Linked DNA regions of Homo sapiens: region 2 is linked to region 1. Evidence: promoter capture Hi-C in 16 types of primary human blood cells and fetal thymus (Javierre and others, 2016). All regions are on one chromosome and are shown on one strand. Each heading gives the region's core, a stretch centred on a gene start or on the middle of the fragment in contact. The rest is flanking DNA. Distances are from core to core; before and after follow the strand shown. Region 1 holds the start of TLX3 (T cell leukemia homeobox 3). Region 2 overlaps RANBP17 (RAN binding protein 17).

The links. Contacts are between HindIII fragments. The CHiCAGO score rates a contact against its expected background, and 5 or more counts as called.
Region 2: a contact is called between a fragment that was not itself captured here and the fragment with the promoter of TLX3 in region 1, in 1 of 17 cell types (endothelial precursors). The highest score is 5.4, in endothelial precursors.

Annotation. Positions count from the first base shown.
Region 1 is chr5:171,307,034-171,312,361 of GRCh38, forward strand. It overlaps TLX3 (T cell leukemia homeobox 3), which reads left to right and starts at 2,215. Exons shown (of 3, transcript NM_021025.4): 1 at 2,215-2,753; 2 at 3,117-3,360; 3 at 4,356-5,106. The coding sequence starts at 2,333. The coding sequence ends at 4,566. RefSeq lists enhancers at 822-1,706, 1,707-2,592, 2,593-3,477, 3,478-4,363. The HindIII fragment of the contact is 15,951 bases long and covers 1-5,328 here.
Region 2 is chr5:170,984,635-170,989,962 of GRCh38, forward strand. The region is part of intron 14 of RANBP17 (RAN binding protein 17); the gene reads left to right. Among named protein-coding and RNA genes, the nearest start is that of RANBP17, 130 kb to the left of the region's middle. The HindIII fragment of the contact is 541 bases long and covers 2,055-2,595 here.

The sequences.
Region 1 (5,328 bases), core at 965-3,464:
ATTCCCTCATTAGTGAGAAATTGGGGCCACTAACAGCCCTTTCCTCACAGGGTCATTGTGAAGAATAAATAAGTGTCCACCTCCCTGCCTGGCACAGGCTAGGGTCTCAGCTACAGTAGCTTTATAGTTGTCATTAAAGTTATTATGATATAACCGCCAGAGTTTCACACAGGCACTGCCACAGATGTTATCTCATTTTGTTCTCACAGCCACCCTGGGGGTAGCTGGTGCCCTTTTTGTTTTACAAATAAGGAAAATGCGGTTCTGGGAGGGGCGGTTAGGGACCCACACTGCCAGTGGCAGAGCCTGAATTAGAAGCAGGAGGCCCCCTGGAGCCAGGGCAATGGCATCTACCCCATCTGAGGGTCGTTGTCGCTGGAAGGGAGTGAGGGAGCACTTGCCCAGACCCCAGACATCCTGCAGCTCTCACTCCTCACTGTTGGGCCTCCCTCTCCACACCCACCAGGAAGGCTTAGCAAGGGCCAGGAATTTGCCCAAGGTCACACAGCGGGCAAGTGACCTAACTCCAGACCCAGGCCTGGAGGCCCTGCAAATCCTGACGCCTTTGGATTGTTGGGAGAAGAGAGAAAGAATCCCCAACCTGCACCTCCTGTCTTTCCCCGTCCTCTGAAACTGACCCTACTGGTAGACAAATACACCTTTCTCTCCAACGTACTGAGCCCCTGCAAATAAAATTAAACTGCCAACAAAATAAACAAGAGTCACAACAATAATACATCAGCCATTACTCTGGGGGGATAGAGTGGGAGGTGAGCCACGCTGCCCAGTGCCTACTACGTGCCAGGCCCAGTGCTCTGCGCTCCCTCAATATCTCACTCGCGGCTCACGAACAACCCGCATGCATGCATTATTTTCCTTTTTTGCAAACGAGAAAACCGAAATCTAAATATATAGAGTCAATTTCTCAAGGTCACTCAGCGAGGAAATGGCCAGTCCAAATTTGAACACACTTCTGGCCAACAACAGCACATCCGAGCTCTCACCACTGTCCACACCACAAGGAGCGGGAGGAAGAACCCAGGCCAGGGGTGCGACACTCAAAGAGTTTGCACCTAACGATTTTAGAATTCGCTGGAAGAAAATGATTCCGCTTGTCTCCCCAAAGCTGCAGCGGAAGGTGACTACTTCGTGTGCGGTCCTGTCCACGGTGCCCTGGGCCGGGTAGACAGTCACTGAGGCGCGAGCAGAACGGGGAGTGGTTCCAGCGCCCAAAGTGGACTGGAGCCGGGAAGGGCTCACCAGTCGCGTTTCCCAAAGAAATCCCGCAATTTGCTCTAGGAGCTGCCCGCGCCTTTGACATTCAGGAACCCGAAGTCCCTAGACCCGCCGAGCCGCGAGCGGGTTCCCACGCGCGACCACAGCCCCCTTCCATCCTGCAACGAATTACGAGAGTCAGGTCCCCGCTCCCCACCGGGCGACCCCGCGTCCCTAGCCCAGCCGCAGCTGGCACGCGTGGGCACCTGCGAGTCACGCCTCGGTCCGCCTGGCCGGAGCCAGGGAGTGTCTCCAAAGTGGCCGCGAGGCCGCGGCCGAAACCCGGGCGGGGGCGAATTCTCCCCACGCGGGTCGGCGTCATCCGGGGCGCGGAGAACGCTACGGTGCTCCCCTCGCCCCGCGCGCAGGCAGCGCGAAGCCTGCCCCGGGTAGTGCGCCCCTTTCGTTCCTCCGGCGGCGGTAGCGTCCAAGGGGCTTCTGCGGATTCCGCCGGGTCGTCCCGGGGTTGCAACTCCATTGTACCTGAAAGGATGCATTTGGTTTGGCTTTTGCTCAGATGAAAAAAAAAAAAAATTGGAAGAAAACGAAAACCCACTCAGCAAAAGACAATTTCACAAGCGGAGCGCTCTACCCACCCAGCGCGGTGTCTGGGAAGCGGCCCGGCCCGGAGGAGCGGGGAGCGTCTGCTAATTGCAGCTTCGTTAGATTTCGGGTTTGGGAGGCTGTGGTTCGGGCTCTAATATCCGCCGCCCATTATCCCTGCTAATAAATTTGACCTATTGTTCGTTTGTTAAAATGATGTCACCTTGGAACAGTCCCTAAGCTCCTATTTCCATGAATTAGGCCTTTATTGAAAGCCGGGAGCCAATGAGAGGAGAGAGGCTTGTTGATCGCAGCCAATGGCTGCGGCAGGAGAGGAATTAGCAGCGGAAACTCCAGGTTCGGTTCAAGAAAGATGACACAGAGCCTGTCGGGCCCGCGCACTCTTGGCAAAGTTTCAGTGCGACGAGAGGCGCCGGGCGCTCCATGGCCGCGCCGTAACGGGGACCCAGCCGCCTCCCCGCCCAGCCCAGCCCAGCCCTTCCGCCCGCCCAGGATGGAGGCGCCCGCCAGCGCGCAGACCCCGCACCCGCACGAGCCCATCAGCTTCGGCATCGACCAGATCCTTAACAGCCCGGACCAGGACAGCGCACCCGCCCCGCGGGGCCCCGACGGCGCCAGCTACCTGGGAGGGCCCCCCGGGGGCCGTCCGGGCGCCACATACCCGTCTCTGCCCGCCTCCTTTGCGGGCCTCGGCGCGCCCTTCGAGGACGCGGGATCTTACAGTGTGAACCTGAGCCTAGCGCCCGCAGGCGTGATCCGGGTGCCGGCGCACAGGCCGCTGCCCGGGGCCGTGCCACCGCCTCTGCCAAGCGCGCTACCCGCCATGCCCTCCGTGCCCACGGTCTCCAGCCTTGGCGGTCTCAATTTCCCCTGGATGGAGAGCAGCCGCCGCTTCGTGAAAGACCGCTTCACAGGTGAGCAGAGCTGGCGACCAGGCTCCAGGCCTCCGCCCTCTCGGGGCCAGAGGCGCCGCGCCCTGTGCGCTCCACTCCCGGAAACCATTTCAGAGGCCCAAGCGCGGCGGAGGCCTCGGCCCCAGGGCCCCGGGCAGCCGTGGTGGGGAGGGTAATCGGAGAGTTGCAGGAAAATAAGCCCGTGCCCGGGGGAAGGGACAGGGGGCGAGGGGGTCTCCCGACCGGCTTGGTGTCTCTGGAAACGCGCGCGACCAGCGAAATAGCGGAGCTCTCCGTGTCCCACGGGGCGCCACGGGGTCCGCATGGGGCCTGAACGGTGGCGGAGCCGGGCTGGGCTTCAGGGGCCCTCCTGTGTCTCCGCAGCGGCGGCCGCACTCACGCCCTTCACCGTGACCCGGCGCATCGGCCACCCCTACCAGAACCGGACGCCGCCCAAGCGTAAGAAGCCGCGCACGTCCTTTTCCCGGGTGCAGATCTGCGAGCTGGAAAAGCGCTTCCATCGCCAGAAGTACCTGGCCTCTGCCGAGAGGGCGGCGCTCGCCAAGTCCCTCAAAATGACGGACGCGCAGGTCAAGACCTGGTTCCAAAACCGGAGGACCAAGTGGCGGTGAGAGAGGCCTGACCCGGCCCACCTTACACCTGCCCTTCACCTGTCCCGCCCCGAGCCGCAGCCTCGCACTAGCCCTATTTTAAGGCTATCCACTACCCCCGCCCCCCTCTGCCTCCCCCAAACACACCCCCACCCCGCCTTCGCAGATTGTACCTCTTCCTTTCACCCTTCTCGCTGGCCTGTGCTTCTCTCTCCATCGTGGTCTCCCACGCCTTGGTTTCTCCTCCATCCCCATCCCCATCTTTCGTGAGCCCCTCCAACTCTCTCCCCGTGTTTTGTACGGTCTCCTGCGTTCACTTGATTTCCTCTCACCCACCCCCGCCCCAAACACACAGGCACACACACACACACACACACGCGCACACACACGGGCCTCTCGCACTCTCCTTCTCCTCCTTCTTCCAGCCCGCCCTCTCGGATTTTCAACAATCCTCGTGGACGCCGGTTTCCTCTCCCCCCATCTCCGCGTCTCCATTCCAGCCGCGTTTTTATCCGATCTCTGTTTTGATTCAACCCGTAAACGGCGAAGCGATCGCGTCTGGAAAGGGGTTCAAGACAGGCCCTGGGCGAACTGGATGAGACTGACCCAGCCCCCGGGCGTCGTGCGGGTGGTGCAGAGCCAGCCTGCTCACCCGCGGACCCCAGCGACCCCGGTTCCCGCAGGGCCAAGTCAGTTACACATAGGCCCTGCCCTTGCTATCTGGCGAAAGGAACAATCTTTATTGTTGGTGAAGCCACAATACCCGGGCGTGCAGGTGGGCGGCGGGCAGAGTCCCCTCCTGGAGACCCTCTGGCACACAACAAAAACAAATGATCCTAACCGGCTCCCTGGATATAAGAGCCTCGGGCGTAAAGCGCGGGCTGGGAGGCAGACGGGTTCTGCGCCTCGAGGCTCCCGGATGGCCTCGGCTCCCGGGAGGGCCGGGGCCCCGCCGGCGGCCCCGCGGTGCCGGGTGCATGACGGTACTGTCCCTCTCCCTCCCCCGGTGCAGGCGGCAGACGGCGGAGGAGCGGGAGGCGGAGCGGCAGCAGGCGAGCCGGCTCATGCTGCAGCTGCAACACGACGCCTTCCAAAAGAGCCTCAACGACTCCATCCAGCCTGACCCGCTCTGTCTGCACAACTCGTCACTCTTTGCTCTGCAGAATCTGCAGCCCTGGGAGGAGGATAGTTCCAAGGTTCCCGCTGTCACCTCCCTGGTGTGAGCCCACCAGCGCGCACCGTCGCCACGGATCGCCGCCCCCACCCAGCCGGGCGCCCCGGACCCCCCAGGCGGGCTGCGGGGGAACCGGCGCCGAGAGGGGAAGGGGCCGCCTAGCCCGAGTAGGCCCCAGGGCGCGGCCACAGACTGGCGGGCCGCGGAAGGGGGTAGGGCCCGAGCTCCGCGCGGCCGCACAATCCGAGCCCCCGCCCCGCGCCCCGTCCCGCCCCAGGCCCGGGCCTGACAAGAAAGCGCCTTACGTTTCTCCGCCCCCCGCCCGCACCCCCCGGGCCGGGCGCCTGTATTATACTTTGTACTTTTGCCCAAACGTGTAAATAATAAAAAAGTTTTGGCTTTTTTCTTTAGAAACCGGCCACCTGCTTCCCCCGCGGGGGCCGCTGGAGGAAGGGCAGCCGACCCGGCCGCTGGGGGAAGTGCCAGGGGCCCGGGGCACCCTGCGTTTAGGCTGGGTCCACTCTTCTTCTTTTCCGTTCCTTTTATTTAAGTCTTTTTATTTAATAAAAAAGTTAGCTATTTCACTTAACGCCGCTTTTATTTCGTTTTCGTTCCAATAATGCTCGGCGACCCCCGGCCCTGCGCCCCACCCCTGCGGCGGTAGAAGCCGAGCGGCGGCGCGCAGGGCGCGTCCACTTCCGCAACGTTCGTCTGCATTCGCCTCGGCTGCAACCCCGGCCCGGGCCCCCGAGGAGGATGCGCGGTGCAGGTCAGTTGGTGCCGGCCACCCGCAGCCTGGGTGCGCACGGGA
Region 2 (5,328 bases), core at 1,075-3,574, 320 kb before region 1:
AAACAAAAAAAAAGTGTAGCTAATAGTTAAATACATATGTAAATGATCACCTATTTATTAGGGTATAATTTAAAACGTTAAAACTCTTAGAATATTTCTTAGACTGTATCAGAATTTTACAGTATTTCCTGTTTATTTTTGTATCCATTAGTTGTTACCTGGTGTGTCACCATTTACTCTAATTATAAATTATCTTAGTTTATTGATAACAATTTTAAGTATTATTTTTTATATTAAATGTCTATTAGAAAAGGTCCATTTTAATTTTTAATCCAATTAAAATGTGATTTTTAAGTTTTAAAAATGGATAAGGAAGAGTCCTTTTAAAATACAGACACACACACAAAGACACACACATATACACAGACACACAGACACATACACATATACACACACAGACACACAGGCACACACAGACACACACAGACACATATACACACACAGGCACACACACACGCAGAACCACACATATACACACAAACACATACATACACAAACACAGACACACACAAATGCACACACAGACACACACACACACATCTTAGCTTCTGAATATCTACCAAAAGTTAGAAGTTTTGAACTTTGTTCTTAAATCCCTTTATTCAAGCTTACCCTACCATAAACATCAGTTTTGTCTTGGTTGGTTATGAAACCTTATCAGTGAGTGAAATTCCAAAAATTAATAAATACGTGTTGTTAAGGTCCTGGAATGTATTTTCCTTTAAAAATAGACCCATAAACAGTGATACTGATCAAGCATAGTATAATAGAATTTGCCTGAATTCTGTCCTCCCAAAACAGGATACCAGAAATTGAGCAAGAAGTAATTCCCTTTCTCTCTTCCATTTAAATTTTGAAATAGACAAGTTAATCTTCAAAATTTTTGCTCTCATTCTTCATTCCTTGTTTTGATATCCTATTCAATCTTTCACCACCAAAGGGTGAAATCCCTTGTATCTCTTTTGTTCATCACCATCTAGGTATACAGGAAAACACACACGTGTGTGCACTTGTGCAAATCTGCTTTCTTTCCAGTACCTTTCATCTGCCAGATGTCAACTGGAAAACATTCCAATTGAAGGATGTCATGCTATTGTATAAATGAATTCTCCTGGAAAGGATTGCCTTTCCTAAAGAAAATATTTATTAGTGCCAAATAATTCAAATGGTATAACAAAGTGAAGTGAAAAAATCAGTATGTGTTGTGGTAGCTGCTTGGATAGGGGTACCATCTTGTCTGGGAGTGTATACCTATGCTAGTTTCCTCCTTTTTATTTTTTGCCTTCATTCTTCTGAATTTACATATTTCCTAAAAATTTCCAAATTGCTTTTCAGGAAGATTTTCAAGGCATTGGGAAGGTTATGAAGCCAGAGGGAGTGAAAACAGAATAGTAATTTATAAATAAAGTTACCATACATCCAGATTTGCCTGAGATTTCCCCAGCTCACGCTTGTTGTCTTGGCAGATTGTTAGTTAATAGCTTCATCTTTCATTCTCAAAAATGTCTCTGTTTGGATGATAAATTATATGATCTCCTTGCATATAAACCACAAGTTTCTAAAGAGGATAATATAGTAATTCATAAATAAGTTTGTAAAGGCCAGGAAGTGAACCTTTCCTTTTGACTCTGTGGCTCTCAGTACCTGAGTAAAAGCCTTGTTTATAAGTGTCATGAACTAGTGATATATAAGCATGTTTAGATCTTTTTTGTGGAATAACTTGAAATTTGCATTAAGCCGATAAGTGCTCCAGTAGTGTAACTATAGTGAACAATAATTTATTGTATATTTTAAAATCACTAAACAAGTAGAATTGGAATGCTCCTAACACAAATGGCAAATGCTTGAGGTAATGGATACCCCAATTACCCTGATGTTTATTACACACTGTATGCCTTTATCAAAACATCAAATGAACCCCATAAACATATATATATATATACCTGTGATGTACCCATAATAATTGCAAATCTAGAAATTTTTTAAAAGATAAGTTCTCATTGATGTATTTTCAAATTGTCCAAAATAAAAACGGGGAATTATCTAAACTTTCAAGCTTTATCTGTGTATATGGATTTCTAAATTGTTTTGTGTAATTACTTATTATTCAACCTTTTTCCTACTGTTGAGTACACATATGAAGCAGCAGATGGCATTCTTTCCCTGCAATTGTTATGTCTTCCTGTATGGTATGTTACTGTAATAACAGTTACTGTTAAATTGAGTAGGAAAACACTTGAATAAGGAAATAGAAAAACATTTCATGATAGTATCTTCAATGGACTACTACAACTTTAAGTGCAATCCAATGTTAAAATAATGTACTAGCTGCTGTTTCATGGTACTTGGATATATTCTGATTACTGGCAACTTGTATGTTTGTATTTGATACACAATTTGGGGGAAAAGTGTTTAGAAAGTTCATCCTAAACAAATTGTTTCATACATAGAATTTTCACTTTGGTGAAAAATAGGTAGCAGCTTTAATACCTTTTAAACACTAAACATTGAAACATTTTAAATATTTCAGCATGCCAAATATATCATGTAGATTATAGGGGAAAGGCACCTGTGACCTTTAAGATTATATGTTGAAGCTTGATTGTTACAGAATAATGCTTAGTGACTTTAGGGATTTTTTTCTGTTAAGTGTTTTAAAGCTTTTCAGACTATTTCTGGGCTGCTTTTTGACTACCATATACTGAATAAATATATCATAATCAGTTTTTGTAATAGATAACAATTTGACCTAGTTAGGTTTTCCTTCTTGGTGAGTGGTTAGTGCTTATATTTCAAGTTAATGTACATACTGCTAGATAGTTTTATTGTTCAGGGATTTGTTATTTTAATAGTCATGTCATATGCTCAATACATATATAATACATTAGTATTCAGATAGGCCTTTTTAAAAAAAAAATAATTTCTCTATACCGCTTCCCACTTTTTTATCCTACATGGTAATATATATTAACTGTTTTTAAAAACACACATTTTATACCTGCTTAACAGAAAGTTGAGCAAATAATTAGACTAAAGGCCTAATTATTTTATTTAAAAACGTCTTTGCTGTATAAATAGATTTGCCAAATTCTACTTTTGAGAATGAATTCCATAAGTGCATTTAAGTGTTGGTGCAAGAGCATTAAGCACTAGACGAGGATGTTTGGGGCAGAAAAATCTAGTTAAAATCTTTGCAGCCACTGGTAATTAAAATTATGGTGTAAGTTAGAGAAATACAGGAAGTAAATTGGAAAAATATGGGCTTAGTTTTTTTTTAATAAGCTGACTTTTACTATTTATTTATCATACCAAATATACCATTATTTGACATCAAATCTTGTGAGAATTATATTTTGTTATGTAATTATATATACATTAAACACTTACTCTCTCCCTTGTGCTATGCTAGATCCTGGAAGAATTCAAAGATGATGATTTTTTGTGATTACTTAATAAAATATATGCTTACCCACAGAATATTTTTACTCTATTTTTTCCTCTCTTTTTTTCTACTTACTTTTAATGATTATAAATTCTCAATCATTATAAAATTCGGTATCTGTGGATAAATGCACAAAGTAAAACTCCACGTGCATTCTGATGTGAATGGCACTTTTTGGATTGTTCTCGAGTAATTATAGTTTGATGATTGATTTTTTTTTTTTAAGTAAGGGAGAGGGTGATAATTTCATCTGGTAGAGAAAAGTTTTCTGTATTCCACCTATCTTTTAGTGTTTGATTTTTTTTTTTGGTGATTCTAGGAATAAGAATAATAAATGAAATACCATGTAGTATGTGACTAAATACCCAAATACCAAGTAGATGTACTTTGAAGAGTTGTCAGCACTAAAGAAGACTTTCAATTTGAAAGAGGTTTTAGTTACTAAATTTTACGACTTGAAAACCCAGTCCCTCCATCAGTCTGTAATTTTTTTTAATAGTCATTGGATCTTGTGGAAATCATCAACAAGGCAATCTTCGTCCACAAATCAGAAGGCTAGGGCCACAAATATGCATATTTTCCCTGATAAAAGATTTTCATAATTAAAATTTTATGTCTACAGTTCATTATATATGTATTATACATACATGATCTTTGCACTTATGTGATAGTTCTTGCTTCTGGAATAAGGATGGATGTTGTTGAACATTCAGAGACTCTGCCAGATACCTCTTACTGTTTATTATTTTTGTACCAAATTAAATATGCCATTATTTGACTGGAAAAAAATTAGCCAGGCATGGTGGCAATGCACCTATAGTCCTAGCTACTGGCAACCAGTTTGTAAGATGAAGATGGGAAGCCTTCCTTACCGGAGTCTTGGGTAGAATTTGCTATCTTAAAAATATTCAAGTTGCTTAAAGTAAGATCATGTGTGAATACACGTCAGTAACTTTGGTATTTCAGTAATAAAGTCATAGGCAAACCCTCTACTAAGTTTTTACTAGAAATATGTTCACCTGTAATGGTGGTGCTAAAATTATTATTTGTCAAAAATAGTTGTCAGTGAGAATCTCATACTACATACTTGGAAGTATTTTCTAATGCTTATAATTGACTTAAGTATCTTGCTTGAAGGGAATCAGGATGAGATATAATCTATCCTACTTGTGCTGCAGAAACGCTGAAGCTATTCAGTCTGTGTAAATAATCCATCCCACATCTTTGCTTCCTCTTCAGTGAATGCTTAACATCCATATATTATGATGGCTTGAGTATCATTTGGAAACATAAGTCATAATAGCTACAAGTTTGTAATCGAAATATTGCGAAAAGAATTTTAGGTTTCAAGATAGTGATCCTTTAATGTCAAATGTTTCCTGCAAAACTGAATGAGGAATATTGTGGATTATTTAATTTTTAATCATTTATTTCATGATTATTTAAAAGTTCCCTATATTAATTAATCACTTCTATACTAATATGTTATACTGTTTTGGTAGGATAAGTGTAAGAAGATAATCATTGGATATTATTCCCAAGGCAAATTAGTATTTGGAGAATAGATACGTTTAGCCTGAGAGCTTGGTATTAAGTAGTTTAAACATCTTAATAATGTATTGGAGTATGTGTGTTTTTATATTTTTTCCTCAGATGTATACTGGTCTTTGCTAACTCATGTTCTTATCTAATATCCAGGAAGGAAAGTTAAGAAGTTAGGCTTACTGAAAAATATATATGACTGTTAAGCCAGAATTTCAGACTATCAACTTTCATGTATACAGTATGATTACAAAGATGTAAAACAAACAATGAAAGCTAAAGTATTAGCAAAAGGACAGAGGAAATATGACAAAATATTTATTGTCTTTAGTACTAAAACAATG